Regions from separate parts of the Homo sapiens genome. Here region 1 is linked to region 2. Evidence: promoter capture Hi-C in 16 types of primary human blood cells and fetal thymus (Javierre and others, 2016). All regions are on one chromosome and are shown on one strand. Each heading gives the region's core, a stretch centred on a gene start or on the middle of the fragment in contact. The rest is flanking DNA. Distances are from core to core; before and after follow the strand shown.

Region 1 (5,170 bases), core at 1,401-3,900, 200 kb before region 2:
ATATAAATATAAATATATCTATATATGTATACATACACATTATGTTTAATGTGTGTGTATATATGTAGATATGTACATAAATGTATTTTATTTTGTAGGTTGTATTAAAACAAAGACCACCACAACTAACATCTTACTGAATGGGGAAAAGCTGAAGGTTTTCCTCTAAGAACTAGAATAGGAAGGCTGCCCACTCTCACCACTTTTATTCAACATAGTACTGGAAGTACTAGCCAGAGCAATTAGACCAAACAAAATAAAGAGGCATCCACATTATAAAGGAGAAAAAGTCATTTTGACAAATAGAGGTAGGTAGTACAAAGATTTTTTTTAAAGAGGAAAAGAAGAAGTCAGATTGTCTCTGTAGGTGACGTGACCTTATGTAAAGAAAAATTAAAGGCTCTACCAAAAAACTCTTAGTACTGATAAACGAATTCAGTAAAGTTGCAGGATACAGAATTAATATACAAAAATGAGTAGCATTTCTGTACATGAATGAACTAACAAAAAGAAATCAAGAAGGCAATCTCATTTACAATAGCTACAAAAAAGTAAAATACCTAGCAATAAATTTAACCAAGAAGGTGAAAGTCCTCTATAAGGAACCCTACAAAACACTAATGAAAGGAATTGAAGAGGATACAAACAAATGGAAAGATCCTATGGTCATGGATTAGAAGAATTAATATTGTTGAAATGACAATTCTACCCAATGCAATCTACAGATTCAATGCAATTCCTATCAAAATACCAATGACATTATTCACAGAAATAGAAAAAAACACTTACAATTTGAATAGAGCCACAAAGGACTCTGAGTAGCCAAAGCAATCCTGAGCAAAAAGAACAAAGATGGTGGTACCACACTACCAGTCCTCAATATATACTACAAACCTGCAGGAACTACAACAGCATAGTACTAACATAAAAACAGACACACAGAAGAATGGAACAGAATAAAGAACCCAACAATTAATTCACATATCTACAGCCAACTGATTTTTAATAAAGGTTCCTAGAACACTCATTTGAGAAAGGACAGTCTTGTCAATAAATGCTGCTGGGAAAACTGGATATCCGTATGCAGAAGAATAAAACTAGACTTCCACCTCTTACCCTATATAAAAATCCACTCAAAATGGATCAAAGACCTAAATGTAGGACCTGAAATGATAAAATTACTAGGAGAAAACATATGAGAAACAGTTCAGGACATTGGACTGGGAAAATATTTTATGATCAAGACCTCGAAAGCACAGGAAACAAAAGCAAAAATAAACAACTGGGATTATATAAAACTAAAAAGCTTCTGCACAGCAAAGGAAACATCAACAGAGCAAAAAGACAACTTATAGAATGGAAGAAAATATTTGTAAGCTACTCATTCAATAGGGGATTAATATCTAGAATATACAAGGAACTCAAACATATCAACAGCAAAAACCCAAATAATATGAGTAAAAAATGGTCAAATTATCTGAACAGACATTTATAAAAGGAAGATATACAAATGGCCAACAAATGTATTTAAAAATGCTTGACATCACTAATCATCAGGAAAATGCAAATCAAAACCACAATGTGGTATCTTCTTACCCCAGTTAGGATGGCTATTATAAAAAAGACAAAAAATAACAAATGGTGGTGAGGGTGTGGAGAAAAGGGAACTGTATATTATACCTCTTGTTGGGAACATAAACTAGTACAGCCACTCTAGAGAACAGTATGGAGGTTTCTCATAAAACCACAAATAGAATGACTATATAATCCAGCAATGCCACTACTGGGAACTTATCCAAAGGAAAGAAAGTCATTGTATCAAAAAGACTTCTGCACCCCCATGTTTATTGCCACACTATTCACAATAGCCAAGATACAGCATCAACTGAGGTGTACCACAACAGATGAATGGATCAAGAAAATGTGGCATACATACACAATGGAATACTATTCAGCCATAAAAAGAATGAATTCCTATCATTCATAGCAACATAGATGGAACTGGAGGACATTACGTTATGTGAAATAAGCCAGGAACATAAAGTTAAACACCACATGTTCTCACCCATGTGCAGAAGCTAAAAAAAGTTGATCTCTTGGAAGTATAAAGTAGAACAGAGGAAACTGGAGGCTTGGGAGGGTAGGGGGAAGGGAGGGATAGGGAGAGATTTGTCAAAGGATATAAAAATTATGGCTAAATAGGAGGAATCAGTTATAATGTTTTATACCACTGTGGAAGGACTACAGTTAACAATAATGTATTATATTGTTTCAAATAGCTAGAAGAAATATACTGAATGTTTCTAACACAAGGAAATGATAAATATTAGAGATGATAGATATGCAAATTACCCTGTTCTGATCATTATACATTATATGGATTGAAACATCACTATCTATCACATGAAAATGTATAATTATTATTTGTCAAACAAACATTTTTTTAAAACCCAAGAACAATTAAAAAAAAGAAGATTATAGCAGGAACCTATAGGAGACATTAAACATAAGCATGAATATATTTAAGCAGGTAGCCATACAAGGGAGCTGAAATAAAAGACATTTTTCAATTAGAAATAGTACATATTTCTTCTATTCATTATTTCTTATGATTTTCCTGTAGCTTTTGATGTGAAAGACTGATAGAAAGACACTGACTTTCACTATTTCTAATCCACAAAAAATGACTGTTGTTTCTAAATTTAACTCATTATAATTATCTCTTTTCTCTCCATGGCATTAACAAGGCCTATCATGGGATCTAATGACTAATCTTGCAGGAAGGGTAACTGGTGACTAAAGTATTCCTCATGTCATATATGTGTATATGTATCTTTTGATGGTTAGAGTCGAATGAATTGGTATCTTTACCTTGCAAGTGTGTAGTTTTGCTTTTATACCCTGAATTGCTTTGTGCAAATTACAGTCTCCAGAGCTGAAGCTCCTTGCTGTGGATGAAGGGAAATGGTGGAAAAAGGGCCCCAGAATCAGAATGGCTTTTCCACCAGAGAAGTGTGATTGCTTGCAGGCACAACGCTTAAGGTTGACCCCCATGGAGGCAACTGTGATTGAACAACTGGGTTGGCCTTCTAGATCCCAAATATCCTTCCTATATTTAATCTGATTAAAGTTTTCTCTCTTCATTTAAACATAAAACATTCCATGACACTGATTTACTTCAATATATAAATGACTGGTTTCATTCATTCATCATTCATTCATTTGACAAATACAGTGCCTCCCATGTGCTAGTGTGGGTAGACAAACAGGACTGACTAACAACTATTGCTAGGTGGCTAAAGAATGGGCTGAGAGACTTCCCTTCCCCAGGCAAGTGAGCCTGCTCCCAAGCTCAGCTTCTCCAAGGCCCTCCAAGTTCCACATGTTGCATAGTATAGGTCCCACCTAAAGCCAAACTGTTATTCTAAGTCATGCTCTCTTCCTCTTGCAAATAAGACTTCTCACTGTCACCAAGGAAAAGGAGAGAACCTTCCCTGTGGACCACCAGCTAACTGTTCCTGTTCCCAGTTCCAGTCTGCACTCAGTGACTCATTCTGGCATTTTCTTATGCCTTCTACCAGTGGCACTGTTCTTGTTGCTGGGGAGATATGTATAAAACAAACAAAAATACTTACTTTCAAGGATCTTACATTCTGGTGGGGAAGCCAGACAACAAGTACAGTAAGTAAATAAATGAAATACAGTGCAGCACAACCCAAAGTAGTAAGTGCTGTGGAAAAAATAGAAATCAGGGAAGGGGAACAGAAAGTGTTGGGGATGGTGAGTGGATGTTGCTCTCTTTGCAAAGTAGATTTTTAGGGGTGAAGGGGGAAAAGACAGCCCAGTCTCCCAGCCTAAATGTTCGTTTTTTTGTTGTTGTTGTTGTTTTGTTTTGTTTTTTTCTCCCTAGCCTTCTTCTAGAGCAAAAGTCATCTGGCAGTTTCAGGACAGATGACATCATTACCCAGAGGTCCTCAAAGACAGTGAAGCTTGAAGAGATTTCTTCATGTGTCAAAATGGGAAGATTACTGTCTCTCCTGCCCACTTCTCTGGGTTGTTGTAAAGATCAAAGGAGAGAAGGGCTATAAAGGTGCTTTGAAAACAATGAAAGCTACACACTGAAAAGGCATTATTATCACAGAATTGTGTTAGAAATAAGTGGGATGACTATTTACGTATCCAAATTTTATAATCTATAGTATAAAGATGAGAGAGAGAGACACACACACACACACACACAGAGACAGAGAAAGAAAGAGAGAGAGACTAAATGTAGGTTTTGGCTTGGAATCATATATATCAAGCTGTTAGTTGGCTATATCCAGGTGATATGACACCTTTCTTCCCTATCAAATCTCCATTGCTGGCCAGCACAGCTTCACTCTTCTGAGGTTATTTTTCTCCTTATCATTAGGCTGCAAAGTACATGACCAATCCTAGGATGAAAATATTGATTTTACCATAATAAGTACATGTGCAAATTGAAAGGCAGGTTAATTTTGCAGGCTCTTAAATTACTCAGGCAATAGAAAATATCAATAAATGCCAAGTGAAAAACAGAAAAACTGATGAGAAAACTGATGAGCATCAGTTCTTAAAAGAACACATAATGAATGTTAAAATTATCAGATATTTTGATACAAGAAATAAAACCAACGATTTTCTAATTTAGGTATCATTTTTCCTCTCTTTTTTTAAAATAATTTTTTTCTTCATTATTTCACAGACCCCACCACCGCTGGAATTTACTACAGATCAAGAACTGGTAAAACTGAAGACCATTTATATTGCTCAATTGCTTCTAAAATAATAGGTATGGCACTTGTGATTAATTTATGATTCATAATCTTCAAATATTAGTAATTATTTAAAAAGGGAAACTAATTTTCTTAAACAATATGGAAGACAAACCTCTAATGTTTAATTTTATTCTTACTGGAATCTAGTAGTCCTGGATGAAAACAAGAAATATAGGAGAAAACATATAAAATGGTACTTATTAATATTAATAGAAACAGTTTGGAAACATTAAAATGAATCTAACAAAAACACATTAAAATATTTTACATATGTGTTTACTATGAAAGAAGGGTAATCTTACACAAATGTAGTGGATGAAGTAGATCAGACTAATAGATTTGAGGTTGGCTAGACTTCACCATATGAAATG
Region 2 (5,631 bases), core at 1,784-4,283:
TACCTCATTAATCACGGTGCACTTGTTCTTGGCAAGAACCTTAATATGCTACAAATACTGTTATTAAAATAAGATTTGGGGATTCCCAAGCTGGCAGGGAATTAGTTAGTTACACCTCTCTCGAAATTATTTTATTGGGGTCTAGTTAAACTTACAGCATAAAGCAACTTCGATAAATGAATGTAATGTGTAAAGTCTGGCTATTCTAAAGCTCATTTAAAATCACAAGCAGCAACTGCCAAAGATGGCCTCTTTCCTCAGGGTCTGCTTAGTTGTGCACAATCCTCCCAAAAGATGATACTATCCATTCCCTCTTTGTGCTAATGTGGATATAGCACCCCTATCTAATTGCTGAGGCATTGCAGTTTCAGACTCTAAAATGTATAATCAAAACTTCACATTTGCTACATCTATTAAGTACACAATTTATTTCCTGTCTACTACTAAAGATACTGCTAGACTGATAAAGCCTGGTAGACAGAGAAGTATCCAACCTTGAACCTTTGGAAAAATCATTTATTAATGTTTTAAAATTCTGTAAGCCCATACAAACCTGTTAACACCAACACATGGAAAAGAAAATGTTGTGTTGCAAGTTCTCATTCATGTTCAAGAACAAGTTAGGAGATGCAAAGTATGTGCACCAACCAAGGCTTTCTTTAACTCTCTCTGAATATACAATGCATAATATAAAAAAAAGAAAGGCTAGAAATGTTTTGAGCATACTGTTGTAAAGAAAAAATCATAACCTATACAGTATATATATTTGCTACCAAATTGAGCATTATAATTGCTAAATTATTTTAGTATATTCTGACAGGTCAAAATAATTTACCAGGCTTATTAAGTAATATGTTTAATTACATATCAGGTCAGAGGAGATTAACGAGAAAAGTGTCAGTTGCATTTCTCTATCATTATCCTAACCACATTTAAATAAATGTGAATTTTACATAAAAGTTATACTTTTTGATGTAATGATGATGCAACACAACCGTTCTCCTTGTGTGCATTGTAAAACGGAAAGTTGGCTGGAATATTCTGCCTAATGCTACATGTTCACGTCAATCTGGGACTGTAAAATTTTCCAGACACCAGAGCCCCACAGATTGTAGACTCCACCAATTTCCTGACTCCTATGTGGTTGAATTCCAGGTTCACCTAGTTACAAAACCAGCCCTTCTTCCATGTTATTTCAAAACACGTTTCTGGTGTTGATGCTAATTCTGCATCCCAGGAGAGAGCTATGTATGGATGACATAACTTATTTCTAAAAGAAACCTAGTCCGTGTGCTCAAAACTTATTTTACTAGGAAACAAGGAATGTATCAGCGAGTATCTGCAACTTTCTCTACTGGTCTTCTAAGGTTGATGTCTTTATATTTCATCTTAACAAAAAAGAAGCAGAAATAATAATACTAAAAAAAGAGGAAGCAAAAGGAGAAGAGGAAGAAAAAAAGAATTAGACACGAGGTAACATTATAAAAACAACCTTAAAATGCCCAGATAAACGTAACTCTAATAGGAGACTGAATGAATGGACTTTGTGGGAAAAACAGTAGTAAACTTTAAAGCCACTGAAAGGTTTTAAATGCCTAAGGGAAAAATAAACATTTGCTTCCAATCATTTTCTCATTAAGCATTCTCTGCTAGATGGAGAAGGCTTACTACACACACACACACACACACACACACACACACACACTCTTTGACTCCGCGCCACAAACGGGGACTTAACCCACTGCCCGATCTCTGTCAGAGGCGACCCATTTGCGCTTCTGCTATCGCACCTCCGCCCGCGTTCCTGCGCCCCAGGTTCCCCGCTGCCTCCCCGCCCCCTGCAGCGCGGGAGCGTTGCTTCGCCTGGCCTGCTGGCCTCCTCTAGACCTTGGCCACCTTCTCCGTGGCAGGAAGGGCTACATGCACTGACAGATTTTCCGTTGGTGGTGGCTGGGTGGTGGCGAGGCGTGTTTCCGGGCGCGCTTAAAACCTAGCAGCTCTCTCCAAGTAGCAGCTTCCCCTACTCCGCCCCTAGGACTGAGGACCTAGCCCTCGATGCCCCCTCACTTCTCCCCGTCCTACCCCGCCATCACCTCCTAACCTCTCCAGTATACTCTCAAGCCTCACACGGGCGCCTGTCCTCCCTTTGCATTCCCTAGCTCCCGGGCGCCCCGTTCGGTTGAAGTTTACGTATCTTGGGACCTAATTGCTCCCAATTATCCGCGCAGCCTAAGTCCCGCGTCTGCCTGGCTCTCGCCCCGGGAGCCTGAAGCTACCGGGCAGTTCATTGGGTGTCCTCGGGGAAAAGGTTCAAGCTGTAGAGATGAGAGAAGTGGGGCTGGGGGAGGGGAGAGGCTCCAGAAGGAAGACCACGAACACGTGCGAAGAAATAAAAGCCACCACGTGTGCACGCGCGCGGGGGCCCAAGGGCGCGAGCGCGGAGCACGCCCCAGGGGGCCAGGGACAGTGGTCCCCTGCAGCGGGCATAGCAGGGGGCGCGGGTACTCACACGAAAGCGTGGTAGATGAACGCCCAGCCGCGGGGTCTCTCCAGCACGTTGTACAGGTAGTTCTGCACCCGCCGGTACTTGACGTTGCGCCGGCAGCTCTGGCTACTCGTGTAAGAGAGCGGCTTCCCCAGCAGGCTCATCCGGGCCCCCTGCTTGCCCCGGCGGCTCTCCCTCAGGCCACCGCCGCCGCCACCGAGCGTGGCCGCGCGGGTGCCCAGCAGTAGCAGGCCGTCGCCCCTGGCGGCTGCCGAGTTCAGCAGCACCCTGCCCCGGCCGGACTCCACATCCTTCATGCCGCTGCCCAAGCGCCCCCCGCCCGCCGCCGCCGCCGCTGCGCCGCTCTTCACCCAGAGCCCGGCGGCGCCGCCCTCCTCTCCTCCCGCGTGGTGGCGGGGCATGGCATCACCACGGGCACCGCGAGGGGGCCGCCAGCGCCTGCGGCGGGGGCAGCGGCCTCATGTGCGCCGGCGGGTTTCAAGGAGGAAGCCGGCGGCCGACGGGGCGCCCGCCAGCCAGAGACCTCTGAGCCGGGGGCGGGGAAGCAGGCAGCCAGCAAACCGCCCGGGCTTCGGGGCGGGAAAGGAGGGGCTGCAGAGGAGGCCGAGGAGTCCCAATTTCTAACAGCCTTTAGCTTCGAATTCTAAATCCGGACCTGTTTGGGGCGTCACTTTGAGAGGGTTTCTCTTGCTCCCTCATTCCCGCGACTACCACTCCCTCCTTCCCAAACTGCCCCCGGGGATAGAGTGGGGGAGTGCGGGGCGCTCCGAGGCGCGCTCCCACGCGCGCACACCCAGCCCCAGGCTTCCCCTTCCCTCTCTCCACTCCCCACGCCCTGCAGCGAAACGGCCCCAGAAGCCCCTCTCCGAGGCGCGAGTTCGGTTTGGTTCTGGCAGGGGCTTTGCAGCTGTCCGGAAGGTGAAGTCAGCCTTGTGTCCTGAGGAGAAACTGGAGATGCAGGTCGCTGTGCCCTCCCGCTGCTACGTCGCTGCGCCGGATCCTGCCATCCTTCCGCAAGGGGTGAGAGCGGGAACAGCCCTGCCCTGCCTTCCAGGTATTATCTAGCCTGGAGGCTGGAGCGCAAGGTAACGCTCCGGGAAGTGGCACTCGGGTCCCCGCACACGGGCGAGTCCTCAGCAGTTCAGTGGACAGACCCGCAGGACGCGGCTGCCAAGTCCGCGAGGCAAGGACCAGGCATCTTCCCGCGCCTCACTCCAGCCTGCGGACTGTGACTTTCCATCCCAGTATCAGACAAGCTCGCGAGTAACTGAACATCCTTTCCAGTCCATGGGTGGGGTGTGGAAAGGGCGTAAAACTCCAAAGTGGCTCCTCCGCGGTGAGCGAGCTGCCCCGGGGCTCTGCCTGACTGCAGCGCGAAGCCTGGGAGAACAAACCCAGTTCCCTCCGTCAAGAAATTTCCATTTAAGTCCGAGAAAGTCATATGATTGAGAAGTTCAGCAGCGGCGGCGAGGACCCAGTGTCTGGGAAAGAACACCTGGAGGATGGGGTGTCCAGGACGCCGGCTTTTCGGGGTTCCGACCCCACCCACCTTATGTTGTAACATACAAGCTTAGAGACCTGTTGCAAGGAACAACTGACTGGGTCTTCCACCACCCCTGGCACCCGGGTGGCCCAAAGCCTATGCGCCCTTGGCGGAGAGAGAGGCCACGGTGCCACTGGCCGCAGCCTCTGGCCTTCAGAAACAGTGTATTACAAAGAAAAGGCAGTTTAAATCTCACATTCAGCATAGGGAAAACTGAAGGGTGCCAGGCTCGGGGACTTCTTCCAACAGAGTGGCTCTTCCCCAAATATGAAAGAAAATCATCAAATTAAATTGAAGGCAAAACTAAGCTTCCACCACAAAGACATAGCAGATAGTTGCAAGGTGGATTCCTTCGGGCCTTTTCCTTTCCTAAGGCTAAAACAATGCTAAGACAAAAGTCTTCTTGCAGCTGTCTCCGCCCCTCCGAGATAAATACTTTCCCAATTCTCCCCCACCCTGTACACACACCCACGCCCGCGGCAGCTGATTTCTGTCTTCTGCAATAGCTCGATTTAAATGCTTTGCTTTTACTCTTTATTATCACTATTATTTGTGTGAAGCCCTCTCGCCTGCTCCTGGTCACCAGCAGGAGCCTGCTTCCCTCCCTCCTTCCCCCCAAGCCTCTGGGCAGCAGAAGCTAGCTGGGAGCTCTGTGCAGCTGGCGGCGACGCCATGTGACTGTGAGCCGAGCACCATCACCCAGAGTCACTCTCTAGCTTTCCCCTAATACACTTCACACCCACGCACTGTGGAGGTGCGAGAGAGGTTGCTCCGTGCGGTGCTATTCGAGGCAGATGCAGAGAGCGCCCTGGAGTAAGCTCTCCAATCCTAGAGCTGCGCGGGACCCTGACTGAAGGCGGAGGGGGCGGGAGGGGGTGCTGTTGCTATATTTAGACTCCCTATGGAGTTTCTGTGCAGGGACTTTCAGGGTGAAAGATCTAGAGACTTAAAATGACTCGTGTGCCCGCTTTAAACGTCAAAATCTTGGCCTTTCTGCAAGCAGTAAAATGAAAACCACTTCCTCTTAACTTAGCTGTTTTCCTTGTTGCAGACTGCTACTTTCGCTGGGTAGGTAAAGTCACTTCCATCTCTCTGGCGCGGCTGGGCCCCGCGTGCAGGCAAGAAGTCTCAGGAAGGCAGGACACAGGGACACGTTTCCCTGGAAGACAGCCAGCTGTTTAATTTCTAAGTGATGCTTTTCTGGGGATGCAGCATTAGTTCTAGTGAAACTGTATTATTGATTAAGCAAATGCCATTTAAGCTTAATTAAAAAATAAAAAAGACCCGGTTACTGGTAGCCGTTTTGAGCTGCTGAGAAGGACCTTTCACTTATGTCTTCTAGAGTAACCGCCATTTGGATACACAGCCCAGAAAAAGAGGGCCTGCTCAAGTTTTCGCGGGTAGTGTGAGAGTTACTAGGAATCCAACAACCTGGCTTCCTAGTTCACTGTTCCTTCCACCAATCAATCTGCATCTCCAGCAGAGAATGGATAAAATAGCAAACAGTTCTGGGGTTTTGTATCAATCTCTGACTGCAACCATTGGGAAAGACTGGCTTAGCTGAAGTTCTAACCTTCCTACC

The links. Contacts are between HindIII fragments. The CHiCAGO score rates a contact against its expected background, and 5 or more counts as called.
Region 1: a contact is called between a fragment that was not itself captured here and the fragment with the promoter of KCNQ5 in region 2, in 1 of 17 cell types (M2 macrophages). The highest score is 5.8, in M2 macrophages.

What each region holds. Positions count from the first base shown.
Region 1 is chr6:72,823,856-72,829,025 of GRCh38, reverse strand. All of the region lies in intron 1 of KCNQ5 (potassium voltage-gated channel subfamily Q member 5), which reads right to left. Among named protein-coding and RNA genes, the nearest start is that of MIR4282, 140 kb to the left of the region's middle. RefSeq lists an enhancer at 3,530-3,579. The HindIII fragment of the contact is 2,683 bases long and covers 1,309-3,991 here.
Region 2 is chr6:72,619,466-72,625,096 of GRCh38, reverse strand. KCNQ5 (potassium voltage-gated channel subfamily Q member 5) reads right to left here and starts at 3,033. Exons shown (of 14, transcript NM_019842.4): 1 at 2,510-3,033. The coding sequence starts at 2,907. KCNQ5-DT (KCNQ5 divergent transcript) reads left to right here and starts at 2,418. Exons shown (of 3, transcript NR_186827.1): 1 at 2,418-2,565. RefSeq lists silencers at 1,699-1,748, 2,779-3,038 and enhancers at 1,397-2,348, 4,459-4,648. The HindIII fragment of the contact is 6,363 bases long and covers 1-4,077 here.